Regions from separate parts of the Homo sapiens genome. Here region 2 is linked to region 1. Evidence: promoter capture Hi-C in human tissues and cell types (Jung and others, 2019). All regions are on one chromosome and are shown on one strand. Each heading gives the region's core, a stretch centred on a gene start or on the middle of the fragment in contact. The rest is flanking DNA. Distances are from core to core; before and after follow the strand shown. Region 1 holds the start of TLR3 (toll like receptor 3). Region 2 overlaps PDLIM3 (PDZ and LIM domain 3).

What was found. The method cuts DNA at HindIII sites, captures the fragments that hold promoters and counts their contacts. A contact is called where the count stands out against the background at its distance.
Region 2: a fragment that was not itself captured here is called in contact with the fragment with the promoter of TLR3 in region 1 in 2 of the 25 tissues and cell types used here (H1 embryonic stem cells and heart left ventricle).

Annotation. Positions count from the first base shown.
Region 1 is chr4:186,067,852-186,070,446 of GRCh38, reverse strand. TLR3 (toll like receptor 3) reads right to left here and starts at 1,291. Exons shown (of 5, transcript NM_003265.3): 1 at 1,199-1,291. The HindIII fragment of the contact is 6,210 bases long and covers 1-2,595 here.
Region 2 is chr4:185,517,218-185,519,812 of GRCh38, reverse strand. The region is part of intron 3 of PDLIM3 (PDZ and LIM domain 3); the gene reads left to right. Among named protein-coding and RNA genes, the nearest start is that of PDLIM3, 17 kb to the left of the region's middle. The HindIII fragment of the contact is 4,125 bases long and covers 1-2,595 here.

The DNA of each region.
Region 1 (2,595 bases), core at 42-2,541:
TGCCACTGTACTTCAGCCTGGGCAACACAGCGAGACCTTGTCTCTAAATCGATAAATGAAATAAAATGAAATAAAATAAAATAAAATAAGATAGGGAAATTTCACATCCATCTGAATAACTAAATAAAAAGGTATAAGTATTTTGAGATATGCAAAAATTCAGTAAGTTTATAGCCATACGATCTGTATGAAAAGGTTATTCTAGGACATGCTTCAGTAAAACAAGCAAAAATGCAGTTAAAGGATGAAATGAGAGTGAAGAAAACGTTGCTGTTGAATGAGATCTAGCAGAAATAAAGAAAATGAAAAAAAATTAAAAAGAGACTCACTCAGCCTTAGAATTTTGGAAATATTTTGTGAGGGCACATGGAATTCACATTCTTTGTCCAAGTGAGAGACAATATTGCCTGATGGTTAGGACATGGGGTCTGGAGGCAGACTACCTGGAGTTAACCACTATCCATAGTTTGATTTGTAAACTTTGCAACCTTTGTAGTAGGTTCATACACAGGCACGCCCATATGAAGACACATACCAGCACGTAATCATCTGTAAACCTGGGAATCAACTTGCTGAAGCCAACTCCATTTTTACCCGAGTACCCCACAATTGCCGATACCAGTTTCTGATCTTCCCATACACCTTAACAACTTTCCACTTCTCCACTTCTTCCATTATCCTTCATTAGGTGAAAGAAAGCCATTTACTTACTCCTAGGCATACCTGAATGTTCTCTCCTATCTAAGACATTGTCATACAATGCCAGCTCCTGTCTCCCCTCCAGCCAATAAAACTAACAAAAGGGGATACGCTCTTTTAACCTCTTGGAGTTTTGTTTCTTTAAGGCAAAGATGTGATTTGCTAAAAAGACTGTTGCAAAATGATTTCCATAGCTTCCCTAATGTGTTTTTTCCAGGTACAGAATGCTACAGAGAAAAAAATTAAATACTGCATAAATACATTATCACATTAACTAGATATTGGTGCTATTACTTGTGTTCTGAGTTATACCCTTCTCCCATGCCCATATCATATCCCTTTTCTTCCACTTTCCTTCCTGAATAATTCTGACTAGATTTCAAGCACCAGATCAAAGAAAGACCAAAGAAGGCTAAAACCACATGCATTCTGCTAGCAAACTCTACTCAGCAAGAGAGACCCTGCCCAGTAAGAACGTGAAATGAACACCTTCACTTACTTGGATGACTGCTAGCCTTTCCTTTTTTCTTTAGTCCAAATCCAGACATTTCATCAGGGAAGTGTGTGGCAAATAGACGGCACTCTCGAAAGTGAAAGTAAAGCTTGAAAAAAAATGCTTTTATGTTTGGTGCATTCCAAGAAGGGCAAAGGGAGAAAACAAAAACAATCTCTGACAACCTCAGAGAGGCGTTTCAAACCGCCTCTGAAAAACACCTAGTTTTTATTTTATTTTAACTTTTTTTAAGCTGAGATCCTTGGATTTCATTGAAAGGGTCACAGATTTAGCAACAGCTAAAGTTGAAAGTGGGGACCTCACCATTTGATGTGGGCGGGTCTGGACCTCTGCAAGTTAAGGAATAACAGTGAATCCCTCAATTTTCTGCTAGACTCATGCGAAGCTGTCAGAATTGAGTAGTGTATGGTCACAGGGACAGAAAAAAAAATCCCTAATCAAAGCTGAAGTACTTTCCCTTCTTTCGTCTGGCTTTTATCTCTTTGCAACACTGTAAAATAACACCGGCAGAAATTAACCTCTTGATCCAGGAAGAAACTGAGTTTCACAGCAGAGAAAGAGCCAAACATGGCAAAGCTGAGAGCCAGTCCCACTCCTGCTGATCCACTTTTCCACGGTCAGACGCGTTAGGGAACAGATCAGTATGCCCAGAAAAGTTCAGATTAACTAAGAATTTCGTTCTTAATTTGCTTTAATGACTCCAACTAGTTAAGTAAATGTACTTGTTAAGAAATGAACTCACTTTTTTTCATTACAGATGTGCTATGATCTATTATAACTATATTGTTATATAGTGAAATATCACAATTGGAAGGAACTATAGACCACCTAATCTAACTCCCTTGTTTGAGAAATTAGGAAAACGAAACCTAGGGAGGTGAGTGGTTTGCCTAAGAACATGCCACAAGCCACCATATGCTTCAATCACACAAGTCATAAAACAACTGGACGGCTGGGACATGGCATTAGCTTGAACTCATTGCAGAGCTGATGGCAAGAAACAAGCGTGCATCATGGTGCAAAGTGCCCTCTTGTGGGCTCCAGCTTCAGCTAGACCGCTTTATAGTTACTGGGCTCAGGGCTACATGTCTCTGATTTTCATTTGTGACATCTGTAACATAACACCATAAGCAAACAGATGTCCTGAGTACGTGACTGTCCCTCACATCTATCCATTGGGATGTCCAGGAAAACTTCACTAATATTCAAAAGATTTCTTCTCTGTGAGCGCCTTGAAGGCAGGGTGAGGTTTATTCTTTGCATTATAGCTCCCCAGCAACCCTCTGAGGTAGACTGTTTCTTTGGCCTTCAATGAAAGAGACTCGTCCTCAGAATTCAAACCCTTGTGTGGCCTTCTCCCACGCTGACTCTAGGCTTGGCCA
Region 2 (2,595 bases), core at 51-2,550, 550 kb after region 1:
TATTGTAAGTTATGTGACCTTTGACATTGGAATAAAATACACTTTCTCACTTACTTATTGGGGAAAAAACTATACCATCCAAGCCCAGCCACAGATATTAAATATTAGTATGTTTATTTCTGGGGGTTTTTTTCCCCTGTGAATAGGTTTAAGCTAAGGAGACATTTTCTTATATGGTTATAGGAATAGTTGATATAAAATTTTAATATCTAGATTTTTAAAATGTGGCCGGGCATGGTGGCTCACGCCTGTAGTCCCAGCACTTTGGGAGGCCGAGGCAGGTGGATCACCTGAGGTCAGGAGTTTGAGACCAGCCTGGTCAACATGGTGAAACCCTGTCTCTACTAGAAATACAAAAAATTAGCCAGATGTGGTGGCACACGCCTGTGGTCCCAGCTACTGGGGAGGCTGAGGCAGGAGAATCACTTGAACCCAAGAGGTGGAGGTTGCAGTGAGCCAAGATCGCACCACTGCACTCCAGCCTGGGCAACAGAGTAAGACTCCGTCTCACAAATAATAATAATAATAATTTTTCCATGCTATCATCAAATAGCTAAGTTTTGTTTCTCTGAGTTTAGACTTGAATCTTAGGCTTAAAGGGCACGTTAGTTGTTGTTTAGATCAACTCCCAGCACCTGAATAAATGCCTTCCATGCAATCCTGAACACAATCTATTTTTCTCTATTTTTCTGTACAAAAATAGACAAAATGGTCCATTTTTTAGTACGAAGTGTTGCTCTTGACTAAGAGTATGTTAATGAAGCTCTTTGTCCTTTTTCAAAGCTTACATTCTCAAACCATAACCCTCATATTTGCTTAATGTTAGTGGAACAACTCAAAGGTATACTGTGCCTGTCACAATACAAGAAAGATGCTTTCAGAAACAAAAATGGTTCTTATCTAAATAAGAAGAAAGCTGTCTCCATTTCCATAAAAAGGATTGCATCCTTGCCAGAGAAGATAATAGAGTTTACATACACAGTCAAGAAGAGTGTGGGATAAAGTCATTTTTATTTTCACAAATAAAAAGTGTTTTGGTAACTGGAAGGCAGCCCATATAAAACAAGCTTTCATAGTCACCATTTCCTCAAGCTCTTCCCAGTGAGAGATGGGAAACACTTGAAACTGCTCACTGGAGAAAAAAGGATGATGAGGGTGACTTTACTGTTTATTTGAGGGGTGAGTATGAGGAGGAAGTGATTCTAAACTTCAAACGTGATGAAATATAATTTCTTCATCATGCCTTGATCAAATATAAGATCACTTCATAGAGTTTGTTTCTCTTATATGCCCACCATTTTTTCATATATATATGATTTGATTTTATATACACATATGTATACATATTATATATAAATATATATGTGTATACATATATGTGTGTATATCTATGAATCAAACATACTGTTTCTGTTGGAGATGGTTCAGAATTATAAAGATTATCTGAATCTTTATCTGTGAGCAGTCTCCAAGTAAGAAGTTGAAAGGTGAAGCCTTTGACTGCTGTCATGTCTGAGGTCATTCCAAGGACATGGGAGACTGCTGTCCATGGTTGGATCCTCTTAACATCAGCAGAGTTCTGTCAAGTTACTTAGCTTTCACTGGGGCAGCTCTAGCATTCCATTAATTCAAAATGTTGTTCCTTAATATAAGCCTCTAACATTTAAAATAAAAATTTTAAATGTATCCATTAAGGGAATAATTACATATTGAATTCCTAAGAAATAAGAATTATTTGGGTGGTTTTTTCTAGATAGAATAAACACAAGAGCTGGACTATATTAACTGTTGTATACACTTTTTTAACTGGCATTTTCAGTTACTTGTGATTTTTCCAGGAAAAATAAAAATGAATTAAAGTGGAACAGCGGACTTCTAATTGGTTTTGTCTTTTGATTACATTTGACCATCAACAATGATGTAAGCCTTGGATAGAATGTTGCCCCTCAGTGCCCCACTTAAATTTCTTGGTAAACCTTTGGTGTATACACTTCATTGTGCTTTTTGGAATGACTCTAAAAGCCCATAAACTAATGCTTTGCAAAGCCTAAATAAAAATGTTTGCAGCCTGTATTAGAAACACTTCCTTTTATGATCTGAATGTAAAATAGAGGTTGTTGGTTTTTTTTTTTAACAAATTACACATTTGTGATCTTTGCAATATATGTGTAACCAAAACCGAAAATTGCAAAGAAATTGCTTGGAGCTGATTAACTTACATGCTGCTATTTAGAAATTCTACTAGAGATTATTAATGCACAAATATTTTCAGAGAAGTTGCCTTATTTACAGGACAACACTACCTATATTTAATTATCATCTTAAGGCTAAGAAGAAATAAGGGCAGAGGTATTTTCCATAAAGCCATTATATTATGTTAGTTTTTATTAATTCAATTCTATTTACAAAGACTTTAAGGCAGGCCTTACTTTCTTTAAAAAAAAAAAAAAAAAAAAAAAAAAAAAGCTAAGCTCCACAAAACTTAAGTGATTCAGTACTGCCTGATTCTTTAATTAGCCTGAGAGACTTGTAATCCACCAAAACTTAACTAGGCAGTTAGGCAATTAGTGTGCTGTCTTCTCTCATATCAAAAAG